3 separate regions of the Homo sapiens genome follow, and all the other regions are linked to region 2. Evidence: promoter capture Hi-C in 16 types of primary human blood cells and fetal thymus (Javierre and others, 2016). All regions are on one chromosome and are shown on one strand. The core of a region is centred on a gene start or on the middle of the fragment in contact, and the rest is flanking DNA. Distances in the headings are between cores, read along the strand shown. Region 1 overlaps ABCA5 (ATP binding cassette subfamily A member 5). Region 2 holds the start of FAM20A (FAM20A golgi associated secretory pathway pseudokinase). Region 3 has its middle 5.8 kb from the start of PRO1804.

Region 1 (4,374 bases), core at 918-3,417, 660 kb before region 2:
ACTGCTCTAATAAAAATTCTGATCTTCTTCATGGATGATCTTAATTCAGTAAAAACAAATTTGTCTAAATTAATTTACAGACTGTGATGAATAATGAGCTCATTATTTTAATAAATTCTAAAAAAATAAATTGTAGGCCAGGCGTGGTGGACCACGCCTGTAATCCCAGCACTTTGGGAGGCCGAGGTGGGCGGATCACCTGAGGTTGGGAGTTCGAGACTAGCCTGACCAACATGGAGAAACCCCGTCTCTACTAAAAATAGAAAAAAAATTAGGGCGTGGTGGTGCATGCCTGTAATCCCAGCTACTCAGGAGGGTGAGGCAGGAGAATCACTTGAACCCGAGAGGCGGAGATTGCAGTGAGCCGAGATCATGCCATTGCACTCCAGCCTGGGCAACAAGAGCAAAAACTCCATCTCAAAAATAAATAAATAAATAAATAAATAAAATAAATAAATACATTCTAATAAAAATTTTGTTATTTGTTTACTATAAAAGTAACACATATCTCTATTTTTAAAATAATATTCAATTTTTGTTAAATATACTCATTGTAGTAATGTATAAATTATAGAAAAGTATAAGGAATATAGAAATCCATAACCCACTGCACAATAATAAAATTTACTGGACATTTGCATTTTCTTTCTTGTTTCAACTGAAACATTTTTTTTCCAATATAAATTTTTTATTTTTATTTATTTATTTTTTAATTTTTTTATTTATATATATATATATTTTTATTATACTTTAAGTTTTAGGGTACATGTGCACATTGTGCAGGTTAGTTACATATGTATACATGTGCCATGCTGGTGCACTGCACCCACTAACTTATTTTTAATTAAAGTTTCTATTTTGAGATAGTTGTATATTCATGTTTGTTTGTTAGAAATGACAGAGAGATCCTGTGTACTCTTTACATTTTGTCCCAATAATAACATCTCGTAAAATTATAGTACAATGTAACAGGGTATTGGCATTGACACAGTCAAGATACAGAACATTTCTGTCACCAAAAAGATTCCCATTTTTTGCTCTTTCCTAGCCTCTCTGACCTGTGGCAACCACTACTCTGTTCTCTATTTCTGTAATTTTGATAGTTCAAAAATGTAAAATGGCATCACAATAAGTTTTCTTTTGGGATTGGCTTTTTTCAAATAGCATTTTTTTTGAAGTTCATCCTATTTGTATTTATCAATAATCCATTCCTTTTCATTGCTGAGTAATATTCCATGGTATGGATACATCACACTTTCTCTAACCATTTGCCTGTTGAAGAACATTTGGATTGTTTTCCGTTTTTGGCTTTTGTAAAGTTGCTGTGGACATTTGCATACAGGTTTTGTGTAAACATCATTTTCATTTCTCTGAGATAAATGCCCAAGAGTGCAATTGCTGAATTATACATGTTAATTTTATAAGAAATTGCCAAATTATTTTCCAAGATGAGTGTTCCATTTTATGTTATCCCTACCAGCAGTGTGTGAATGACAAAAGTTTGAATTATCCAAAATAATTGCATTTGCCTTAGCTTATGTTTTTATTCTTGTATTAGAATTTACATGTGTCTCATGTTCTCATAATTCATTGAACAGAAAACTTGCCAATTTTGTTCATTTCTCCTCTTCTTAACTAATCTTTATATTTCATGCTTCCTTTATCTCTGTGGACAGCTCTTTCATATAATACCTTCAGTTATTAGGAGTAGATATTTTTATAGATGACAAAAATCAACTAAATAAAATTGTTAGGTATTTGGATTTATGAAATATTTTAGAAATTTCAAATTAAATGAGAACATGAGATAGGAAAACTATGATCATTTGAGTTTACCATTAACAAACTTGTGACGTAAATAACACCTTAGATTTATATGCTATACCAGTGTACACAAAAGGCTTTGAACATTTCAAAAGCTTTCACTTAAGCTGAAAGCCTTATGTAAATCCAAAGGATACTTGGCAATTTATTAGTGTTTTTATTTATGAAAGGTTCATTTTTAAAACTGAGAATTCTTTTTCTGTGTAAACATGTCTTCCCATCTGTTTCCACAGTATTTCAAAAGTAGTAATGTTTTGGCTATTTATTATTTGTATAGCTGTAACCCCAACCGCCATGACACCTTTTGCTTTATTTTAATCTCAGTTTCTTGGCAGCACTACTGTATTCTGATTCTTAAAAATTTTGTTGAAATTGTTACATCTCAGAAATAATGAGCCAAATTAAAGGCTAAATGGAATTTGTATTTAGTGTGAGGGGGACTTTTATTACCTATAAGCCTGGAATGTAACCTTTTTGGTTTTGCTGATGTAAAATTAAGAGATCTACAATAATTTACTAATTTATTTGTGTGTTTCTAAAGTGTCTAAAATTATAATAAATTGTTTTTCATTTTTTTTAGATCAAAGCTTATACTCAACTTAAACTTTCAGGTCTTTTGCCATCTGCATATTGGATTGGACAAGCTGTTGTTGATATCCCCTTATTTTTTATCATTCTTATTTTGATGCTAGGAAGCTTATTGGCATTTCATTATGGATTATATTTTTATACTGTAAAGTTCCTTGCTGTGGTAAGTTAACGTTAGTTGTACTCATGCTATTTATAGATAGAATGTTATTTAAAATCTGTTATAAACATGACAGTTGACTTATTGCATAATTTGGTTATTAATTTGTTAAAGAAAATAGAGCAAGTGTGTCTGGTATTTAATACATGTAATCATTTTATATGATAAGTGACTTTTAAAAACAATAACTTACCACCATTTTAAAATAATTTCTTGAAACTAAAGTGATCTTTCATGTAGACCACCTACTTGGGTGTAATCAGGAACGTTTTAATATATTCCTTCCTTAAAATGCCTTCCTTCGTTTTTCTTATGCCTGAAAATAATTTCACAAAGGATAAGCTCTTTTATTCCATAGTTTAAAATATAGCTTAACATTTCTCTATCTCAATAATGGGCAGGCTGCGAGCCAGATGAAGAACACAACTCCATTTACAATAGCCACAAAAAATTAAAATACCTAGGAATACATCTAACAGAGGAGATGAAAGATCTCTACAGGGAGAACTACAAAACATTGGTGAAGGAATTCAGAGATGATACAAGCAAATGGAAAAAAATTTCATGCTCATGGATTAGAAGACTCAATATATTAAAGTGGCCATACTGCCCAAAGCAATCTACAGATTCAACACTATTCCTATCAAACTACCAACATTATTCATCACAGAATTTTAAAAAGCTATTCTAAAATTCATATGGAACCCCAAAAGTACCCAGATGGCTAAAGGAATCCTACATAAGCTGGGCGCGGGGGCTCATGCCTATAATCCCAGCACTCTGGGAGACCGAGACGGGTGGATCACGAGGTCAAGAGATCAAGACCATCCTGGTCAACATAGTGAAACACCATCTCTACTAGAAATACAAAAAAATAGCTGGACGTGGTGGCATGCGCCTGTAGTCCCAGCTACTCAGGAGGCTGAGGCAGGAGAATCGCTTGAACCGGGGAGGTAGAGGTTGTGTTGAGCCAAGATCGTGCTACTGCACTCAAGCCTGGGCAACAGAGAGAGACTTTTTATCAAAAAAAAAAAAAAAAAGGAATCCATGTAAAAAGAACAAAGCCAGAGGCATTTCATTACCTGACTTCAAACTATACTATAAAGGCTCCAGTGACCAAAACAGCATGGTATTGGTACAAAAACAGACATGTAGACCGATGAAACAGAATGGAGGACCCAGAAATAAAGCCACACATCTATAGCCATCTGATCTTCAACAAAATTGATAAAAATAAGCAATAGGAAAGGACTCTGTGTTCAATAAATGGTGCTGGGATAGCTGGCTAGCCATATTCAGAAGAATGAAATTGGACCTCCACCTTTCACCGTATGTAAAAAGTAACTCAAGATGGATTAAAGATTTAAGGGTAAGACATCAACTATAAGAATTCTACAAGAAAACATAGGAAATACCATTCTGGACCTTGGGAAAGAATTTATGGGTAAATAAGTCTTCAAAAGCAATTGCAACAGAAATAAAAATTGACAAGTGGCACCTAATTAAACTAAAGAGCTTCTGCACAGCAAAAGAAACTATCAACAGAGTAAATGGATAACATACAGAATGGGAGAAAATACAAACTATGCATCCAACAAAGGCCAAGTATCCAGAATCTATAAGGCACTTAAACAATTCAGCAATCAAAAAACAAAACTCCATTAAAAAGTGGGCAAAAGATATGAACAGACACTTCTCAAAAGAAGACATGCAAATGGACAACAAATGTATGAAAAAATGCTCTACATCACTAATCATCAGAGAAATGTAAATCAAAACCACAGTAAGATACCATCTCATGT
Region 2 (4,674 bases), core at 1,240-3,739:
AAGCTCAGGGGGTTTTCAGGAGGAGAATATCCTGGTTGCCTCTGCATACTAGAAGTCTCACTCTGGCAAGAGTGTGTGTGGGCACTGAACTAAGGTACCATGGAAGCAGAGGGACCAGTTAGAAGCCTATTTGCAAGTATGAGCAAGAGATTATGAGGCTCTAGATACATCAAGATCAGTAGAGATGGAAAAGGAGGGAGGGGCTTCCAATGAAAGATTTTAAACAGAATGATGGGTCCCAGCAAACAGCAATTTAGGATACCTTCAGTGTGAACGGAGAGGATGTATGTGAGGCTGGCAAGTAAGCCAGGGCCCAAGACATGGAAGATCGGAGGAGCAGGAGAAGGCTCATTTCTAGGAGGGGTAAAGGTAGATTAGAGGCAAACCTGAGGAAGCCAACATCCTATTGGCCAATCCTACTGGTAGGATTTCCACTCTCCTATCCAGCTTCATTCACACTTAATATCTAACTCCCACATGCAGTTCTGCACTTGACTGTGACCTTTAAAGGGCATGGAAAATATGTTTACATAATTTCCAAGCAAGTTACACTATTGTTCCCTAAATTGGGGCCAGAAAAAAAAGAGTCTACTAAGCGAGTATGACCCCATGGGTTGAGGAGAATTGAAGTCACAAGACCTGCAGTGTCACCACATCCACGTCCTTTGCCAGCCGAGAAAAATGCGCATCAGTTTGCCACACAGTTACTGCAGTTACATCACCACCATTCAATGCCTGACTTCTTCATTCGCTTGCCATGACATCTAATTAAACACATTAGAAGTTGCAACGTCTCTCAGAAATTGGAAATCAGTTAAAATTTAATTCCAGATAAAAAGGAGGAGGTTCTAGAACCCCTCAAAATGCCCACCATCATACCCAGAGGAGTGGAGTAGCTGGGAATAGTACCGTCTTGGGCTTTTTCACTTGGACTGGGCACTCAGGCCACAATGTTATGCCCCTGAAAGCAGGTTCCTTCCTGCTATCTTCCTTTTCCATCCTTTTCTATTTTTGTCCTAGCGATGAGCAGTCTCTAACCAAGCCTAGTGTACTACAGGAACTAATAAGTAATCATAATGATAGCAAACACATATTTCACACTTATTTAGGATGAGTTAGGAGCTCTTCTAAGTAATTTATACATAGTCAAGTGCCACATAACATTTTAGTCAATGCAACAGTGGTCCCATAAGATTACAATACTGTATTTTTACTGTATGTTTCCTATGTTTAGACACACAAGTACTCACCACTGTGTTACAACTCCCTACAGCATTCAGTAGTCGCATGCTGTACAGGTTTGTACCTAGGATCAACAGGCTATGCCATGTAGCCTCCGTGTGTAGTAGGCTGAACCATCTAGGTTTGTGTAAGTACACCCTGATGTTCACACACACAGGAAAATTGCCTAAGGATGCATTTCTCAGACGTGACACATAATTGTACTTCAATTCATTTAAGTCTCATAATAACCTTAGGAGGTAGGTTCCATCATTATCTTCATTTACATTTGAGGAGACTGCAAAGTCCCGAAGAAATCTTACACTGAACCACGGGGAAAAGAACTCTGGTCTGAACCCACAAGTCAAAGTATGTCTGAGGGTTCTCAATTCCAGCAAGGGAAGGGAGGGGGTTAAAGAGTAGAACTAACTTACATGGGAAGCTTTGCTGCCTGGGCAAGCAGCTTCTGGTGGATTTCCTGAAATTCAGCAGGGTGGGGCCGCCTCTCCAATCAGACTTCACTTTACTATACTATGGGGTCATTAAATAGAGGAGCCAGGAGTTCAGGACTCCCTCCCTCTTCTTCAAAAGGAAAACTGGGTGTGGGGAGGGTACATTACCTCACAGAATATTGGAGAAAGCCTAAATGTGTCCTCCAGTGATTCATTTGGGTGGACTACTTTCACACCAAGCTAAACTCAAAAGTTCGGAGTGGGGTCATCAGGGCCCCTCCCTCCCTGAGTGCAAGAAACATTTCCTCTTTTTAAAGTACAGGCAGAGTTGGAATCAAACTCCTTCCAAACAGGAAATCAGCAAGATTCTAGGTAAAACTGATACCTTACTTTTAAAGGTCAAGCTCTTTCCTTCACCAAGAGCGTGTTTCCTGAGCACCTACTATGTGCCAGGCATGTGGTAGGTAGTTGTTATGAATCTTGATGTGCCCTGCGCTCTGCAGGGGGGCGGAGGTGGAAGGGAACACAAAGAAAGAACAGATACCAACACTGCCACCCCCGCCTCCCCCCACCCCCCCCCACACACTCATTTGGCAAAGCTTACAGGAAAAAAAGGGTTTTAGGGGGCTTGTGGTGGTTTTTTTTTCCCTAAAAATAATAGAAATGGTAAAAAGAGGCTTCGGACCCCTCGCGTGAGTCCCTTAAAGTGACTGGATTGAGACCTGGGCAGGGAAAGTGGGAGGCCCGAGCGAGGGGGAGGGCGCAGGCAGTGGGTGGGTGACAAGGTGCAAGGGCAGCGCCGGCTTCGGATCGGGAGTTGGCCGTCAGCTGCGCCAGAGGCAGGTGCCAGCGGAGAGTGGGTGGGGGTGCCGGCGCCAGGCCAGGCTCGGGGAGGCCCCGCGCTACCTCTGCCTCTAGGAGTCCAGGCGCACAGACAAGCTCCCCGGAGCCGCTCCTGCTTCGCCAACTCCCCACTCGCGCCGCCCGTGCCAGCCGCCGGCACTGGCGTCTCCGCCGCCCGCAGGAGGAGTCGCGGGAGCACTAGCAGCCGCCGCCGAGCGACAGCATCCTCAGGAGAGACGCCCCGGGCTTTGCAGCCGGCGGCCTCCGTCCGCCCTCCGCGGTCGCCCCCCGCCCCGTCGCCCGTCCGCCCGCGGTGGCAGCCGGCGCCGGCGCCCCGGGGCCCTTCACCTGCCGCGAGCGTCCGGGCGGGCGGGCGCACGGGAGAAAAGGCGCAAGAAGCGGGCACCCCGGGAACCCCATTCCCTCGGCTCACTCGGCGCGGAGAAGCGACGCCCGCTGACTCCGAGAGCCCCGGTGCTCCGTGCACCTGGTCCCCAAGTTGAGGAGCGACACCCCTCCACAGGGGACTAGCCCGCGCGGGGAGCATTCCGGTCTCACTGACCCCGGCCCACCCGCGGGACTCCAGGCACCTCTTCTGCCCGCACCCCGCGACCCCTCCCGGGACCCCGGAGACAGCCGGCCTGCCCCCGGCGTCCCCCTTGGCCAGCACGCCATGCCGGGGCTGCGCCGGGACCGCCTACTGACTCTGCTGCTGCTGGGCGCGCTGCTCTCCGCCGACCTCTACTTCCACCTCTGGCCCCAAGTACAGCGCCAGCTGCGGCCTCGGGAGCGCCCGCGGGGGTGCCCGTGCACCGGCCGCGCCTCCTCCCTGGCGCGGGACTCGGCCGCAGCTGCCTCGGACCCCGGCACGATCGTGCACAACTTTTCCCGAACCGAGCCCCGGACTGAACCGGCTGGCGGCAGCCACAGCGGGTCGAGCTCCAAGTTGCAGGCCCTCTTCGCCCACCCGCTGTACAACGTCCCGGAGGAGCCGCCTCTCCTGGGAGCCGAGGACTCGCTCCTGGCCAGCCAGGAGGCGCTGCGGTATTACCGGAGGAAGGTGGCCCGCTGGAACAGGTGAGGACCCCGCCCGGGACGCGGGAGAGCGGGCGCTCTGGCCGGGGCCTCCCCGCGCCCCAGTCTCGAGTTTCCTGACGCCCCCGGCCCAGGGCTGCAGCGGCTCCACCCACGGCTCCAGCCCTGGCGCTGGGCTTAGAGTGTGTTCCCCACCCGAACCCCACCAGCTGTTGCAGACCTCACAGTCCAGTCCCGGAGTCAGATAGTACGAGGAAAAAGTTTCTATTGCAGCCGCACAGCGAAGAAACGCTCTCAGCCCCTTCCCCTTGAGCGCCTGGGTCGTCGTTGAGCCCCACTCCTGCTCCCTCGTCCACTCCCGCTCCCTCGTCCGCTCCCAAACCCCACTCTCTGTCCTGATGTGGAGGAAAGCTGCCGCTGGACTTCGGGTTTCCAGAATGAGGCCCCAAACAGGGTGACTCCAGAGCTAGTTGAAATTCAGCACTTAACTGTGCTCTTTGGGTAAACCTGGGCGCCTTCCAGAAAGCATGTTTCTCCCCAAAACCCAGTTCTTTCCCTTTCCTTATTCCTCTGCCCAGTTTCAGAGATCACAAGGGGGTCATCTGAGGCAGGAAGTAAATGGTCAGTTCTCTGCCGCAGCCACCCCATTGTTCACATTTAAAACGCGGCTTGGGCCCATCCAGCAAGTATTAGAACTTGAAGGCACTTTTATCGTCTTGTATGATCCTGGTGATTTGGACTGACTTGGATCTGCGGCTTGATGCTTCCACAGACGAGAAAAAAATCTTTCAGGGAATTTTTTAAACCCAAAGCAAAATACAGAGGAAAAAATATCAAATATATTTAGGATAAAATTAAGAATCTTTCTGGAAAAGGATGGGGGTGTTAGGGAAGGCAGCACGCTCATTACTGAGATCCCTTGCTAGTGGCAGGAAGCCTTCGTATGAGTTAAGGACTCTGTTTTGAAGTACAGAACTTGTCTAAATACCACTCACATGCAGAGTTCACTATCGCACCACACCCATCTCTTTACTTAATACAAGAGATTTCAAAGTAAGATGTCATCGGTGGTTTTATGGTCCCTCCAGAGGATGAGCAGACCATAAATCTCTCTTGAAACTCA
Region 3 (4,730 bases), core at 50-2,549, 640 kb before region 2:
AATTTATCCCTTTGATAATTTGAGACCAAGAGATGGATGCTAATTAGGTTTCTCAGTTAACAATTGGGACTGATCAAGGGGTATCTATCAACTAAACTAAATAATGATATAAGCATAGAACCTGGATCTGCCTTCTAAGACTAAACTGGCAACTGTTGAGGTGGCCCTTCTTTTATGTTCAAACTTTGATTTTTGAGCTTTAAGTTGTGAGTTAACCCAATCTAAGTTTCAGGTTTTTGCAACCCAGTATTTTCCGCTAAAACAAGATGTTTTTTAGGTTTTATTATTACGTTTCATCCAAATTCATGATAATAGGACTTTCCAGCTTCTGTGTTGTGACTATAGTATAACGTGCTTAATTAATGAAAATGAATTCCTCAGACCGGGTGCAGTGGCCCACACCTGTAATCCCAGCACTTTGGGAGGCTGAGGGTCAGTAGTTCGAGACCAGTCTGGCCAACATGGTGAAACCCTGTCTCTACTAAAAATATAAAATTAGCTGGGTGTGGTGGCACGTGCCTGTAATCCCAGTTAGTTGGGAGGCTGAGGCAGGAGGATTGCTTGAACCCAGGAGGCAGAGGTTGCAGTGAGCCAAGATCGCGCCACTGCACTCCAGCCTGGGCGGCAGAGCGAGACTCTGTCTCAAGAAAAAAACAGAAAGAAAGAAAATGAATTCCTCACCTGGGTTGCAATTTTACTTTCCTTTCTGTTTTGTAATTCTTATATGTCTAATTAACCATAATACTATAGTCATTTTACTGACAGAATAATACCATTATTGTTTTGGTTCACCTTATCTAATTTTTATTTATTAACATATCTTTGTCATATAGTTGTAGGAAAAGATGTTGAGTGCTAGTTGTGATGTATATGTATTGGCTAGTAATTTCTTTGGCCAAATTATACTATTGATATTGTTATGTGATTATGATGTAGTTGATATTGGTTTTCTGTTGACTACATTTAAATTCTCATACATCAGTGTACATGAAATCAAGTTTGTGATAGAATGAGATTAAAATTATACATCAAGCTTTACAAATTGGTAAGAAATCTCAGCTTCTAGTGTTATCATATCTGCTAATTTTAAAAGGCCTTATCTGTATCTTCTAATTCTTTAGTAAGTAGGCATCCTTTGAATTTACCTTCACCAAATTAAGACACTAGATAGTTTTTAGAGCCGTCTATGATGGTGCCTAAAGTCTTTAAGTTTCAAAGAAAGACTGCTTTTCATTATTATTCAGTATTCACAAATATTTTATTGTATGTCAGTTAAGAATCAAGCACTTTTCTAAGCACTAGGCATATACATTATTGAAACAATAGACAAAAGTCTCTGCCCTCACTGAGCTTTTATTATAGTAAGACAAATTACCTACTTTAAAAAAATACATAGTATGTTAGATGATGGGGAGGGAGATAAGGACTCTTGGTGCTGCAGATGAAAGCACACTGATCTCATGTAGGCAAGACTACACTGAGAAGGTGAGTTGGTACTGCAAGTACAAAGGCCCTGAGGCAAGGTGTGAGTGGCATATTTGAGAAACAGAACCAGTGAAGCTTTAGCTAACTGATTAAGGGGGACACTAGTGGAAGATGGGATCGAAAGGGCCCTTATGGACATTTTATTGACATTCAATGAGATCAGAAGTCATTGGAGGGTTTTGAGTAGAGGTGTGGCAACATTAGGCATATTTGAAAGGAACAGTTTAGCTGCTGTGTTGAAAATAATCAGATATGAGGGGACAGAGCACAAGAGACCTGTTAGGAGGCCATTGCATTTGATGAGGCAAGAGATGGTGAGTTGAATCAGGAAGGTGAATAAGAAGTGGTCTAATTCTGAATATTGAGAAGGTGGAGATTATAGTACATGGAGTATGGGAGAAAGGGAGTCAATGACACAAGGGCTTTTTGTTTTTTGTTTTGTCTGAGCCTCTGGAAGAGTAGAATTATCAGCAATTATGTCTCTGAACGTATCTTCTACTAGTATCATCAAGTGGATGAAGAAGACCGTGGAAGTTTAGGTTTGAGGATTTGAGGGAAAGATCAGTTTTGTATTTGTTAAGTTTGAGATGCTCATTAGACATCCAAGTGGAGATGTCCAGTGAGCAAAGGAAATAAATACTGGGAGCAGTGTTAGTTTTGGAACCCATTCACAAGCTGAGAGTCAGGGGGTATTGATGGTACAGCAAGGCCCTAGCAGTAGTGAAACATAGGTAATGTTAACTGAAGCACACTGCCAGAAGGCAAGGGGTCTTACCCAGAGTAAGGAAATTCTGAGAACAGATTTGAGACCCAGTGGCACAAATCTTAGCTACTGAAGAACTGAAAAGAAGGAAATTGTAAAGTGAAATTGAGTTTGTGATTGATTTCTTGGGAAAGCACTGCTGGGAAAGAGGAAGACAACTTTGGAAGGGGCCCATCCCTTGGAGGCTTGATGATGTAGAGAAGTCAGGCAGCTGAAGAGTTCTACAGAAACAAGTTAATATCACAGTCAGAAGACAGACCACCAAAATCTCACCACATGGTACTATTTACTAAAGAAATTGCATTTCACTGTACCAACCGAAGAGTGCTTTAGTTTGGAAACTAGGTTAGCCACTCCAAACCCTCCATTTCCTCTATTCTGGGACCATAGAATGGCCCATTGTTCAGGCTCCTGTGGATGCTGAAATGAACTGCCTATATTCCCCTTCAGAAATAAAGAACTTATTTCTCCTGCCTCTGAGAGTGCTACCATCAAACGGGTCACACTTTTCAACTCCCTAGGGCAGCCTTAGCAAACTAATACAAGCCCCATTCCAGGATCTGCTCCTAACTTCCTTCCTAATGGCCAATAACAAGGATTAAGACATAAAGTAACTTGGCGAAAGTTGTGCTGGTATTTCTGAGGGAAGAAATGTACTGTATCACACAAGAGCTGCAGGAGCTAGCCACATCTACCCATAAGAGCTAGGAGAATGTGCATGGGACTGGATTTTAAGGGTGCATGATCAAACAATGCAGAACATAAAGTTGGATAAGAGTTTATTCAGAGTACTCTTCTGGCCTAAAGGATTTTTAATGTCCTGGCAAGAATCCCAAGAGATGGTTCTTAGCAAGAACACACTGTTAAGATGCTTCCTGCATGGAAAAAGCAATTGCCCACCCAATGTCATGTATAAATATTGAAAAGCCATGGTACATGATGCAAGAAAAGGGTGAAAACACCCAGAAAACCAGGCATCCTGCGTGGGTGTACTATATGAGTTTGGAAAACACAGTAGATGACTAAATTCAAACGAACAAGGAAGGTACTATTGAAGGGCACGCCAACGTCACTATACAGCTAGAGGTGGCTGTCCTGTGAGCTGATGGTAAGTGATACCATGATAACACTGGGCTCACAGAGAGCAATGGGGGTGATAAAATCCTGACTAATAGAGGCCGGGTGGCAGCACTCAACAATTAGAAACCTAAGAAACCATGGGGACACAATTACTGTAAAAAGAACTGCAGAGCTCTCAACACAGAACAACTCTGTCGAAAGCCTGACACTGAGAGACTTGACCAAATTTTAGCACGGCCTCTAGCAGCATAAGGCAGTGTCTGTAGGGTGATCGCAGGTCCCTACCCCCATTTAAATAACAGTCTGAGAAAGCTCAATACTACCAGAAAAATCTACTTTTTGTTGTAGCCAACACATGATAACAGGCCCCTGATCTGATTTCTTAGAGCATTTATTTACTAAAAGGAGCTTACAATTATAAATATGTATCTTTTGCAGCTCACATGTTTCTTTCTCCAACGACCTGGGAACCATTCTTTTTAAAAATAGTTATCAAGAAGGATAAGGCCTCTGTCTTCCAGTCTCTGTGAGAGGATAGAATCCTAACTGATAATTGCCAGCTAAGAAACACAGCTGACCTAATCACATTCACACTGACCAACCCTTTGTACTTTTCTATTTCTCTGACTCTGCTGAGCCCCTACAACCTCCCTACTCCCACTCTCCTTTTTAAACACCCCAATCACCTCTGTACAGATCAGAAGGCAGCTCAGCTCTTTCCCCTACTGTCAGTAGTTACCAAATAAAATTTGTTTTCACTGCTTTAGTTTTTAGGCCATGTTATCTTTGACAACAGCTAGGCTGTGGGGGATGGGGACAGTGATCCACAGTTATGGAGATATTTAATAGAACATTGCATCTGTAGGGGCCAAATGAATGGATCATCAATGGAGTACTCATTCTTTACAATTAAATCAATGATGGGTGATCAGAAGGTTGAAGACAATTGCCTCAACAGAAGGTCATGAGTCCTCTCTGGTTTCTGGATCTGAGCCAGTTTTTGTACCCACAACCAATTGAAAGAGAAGTTGGGTCCCTAGGAGGAGGGACCCTGCAAATGATATATGGTATTGGTTTCCTCAGACCTCCTCCAAAGTAATCTATAGCCTTTAACTCAGGTAATTATATACTGGAGAAAACAGAATGCCCAATCATTTTAAGGCCTGTTTACCACAGGGTCAAAGTTGACACAAGTCCAAAGACTCAAAGTAAAGTATCATCATGCCCTCTCTGACAGAGTAAGAGGCATTTGAGTTCTAGATAATAACTAAAATCCTAGCCTAGAGCTAGTTCATAGAGAATCCACTAGTCTGTAGACCTATCTGTCATGTCTCTAGTCCCTGATTTGTAATTGGAATAGATATACATGGGAGTTGGCATAACCCCCATTGTTTTCTTGACC

Evidence for each region. The method cuts DNA at HindIII sites, captures the fragments that hold promoters and counts their contacts. A CHiCAGO score of 5 or more calls a contact.
Region 1: a fragment that was not itself captured here is called in contact with the fragment with the promoter of FAM20A in region 2 in 2 of 17 cell types (erythroblasts and monocytes); the score reaches 6.1 in erythroblasts.
Region 3: a fragment that was not itself captured here is called in contact with the fragment with the promoter of FAM20A in region 2 in 2 of 17 cell types (M0 macrophages and monocytes); the score reaches 7.6 in M0 macrophages.

The regions. Positions count from the first base shown.
Region 1 is chr17:69,262,936-69,267,309 of GRCh38, reverse strand. ABCA5 (ATP binding cassette subfamily A member 5) reads left to right here. Exons shown (of 39, transcript NM_172232.4): 24 at 2,405-2,575. Among named protein-coding and RNA genes, the nearest start is that of PRO1804, 30 kb to the right of the region's middle. The HindIII fragment of the contact is 492 bases long and covers 1,922-2,413 here.
Region 2 is chr17:68,599,182-68,603,855 of GRCh38, reverse strand. It overlaps FAM20A (FAM20A golgi associated secretory pathway pseudokinase), which reads left to right and starts at 2,489. Exons shown (of 11, transcript NM_017565.4): 1 at 2,489-3,593. The coding sequence starts at 3,190. The HindIII fragment of the contact is 2,926 bases long and covers 2,275-4,674 here.
Region 3 is chr17:69,238,397-69,243,126 of GRCh38, reverse strand. It overlaps a transcript of ABCA10 not described here. Among named protein-coding and RNA genes, the nearest start is that of PRO1804, 5.8 kb to the right of the region's middle. The HindIII fragment of the contact is 527 bases long and covers 1,036-1,562 here.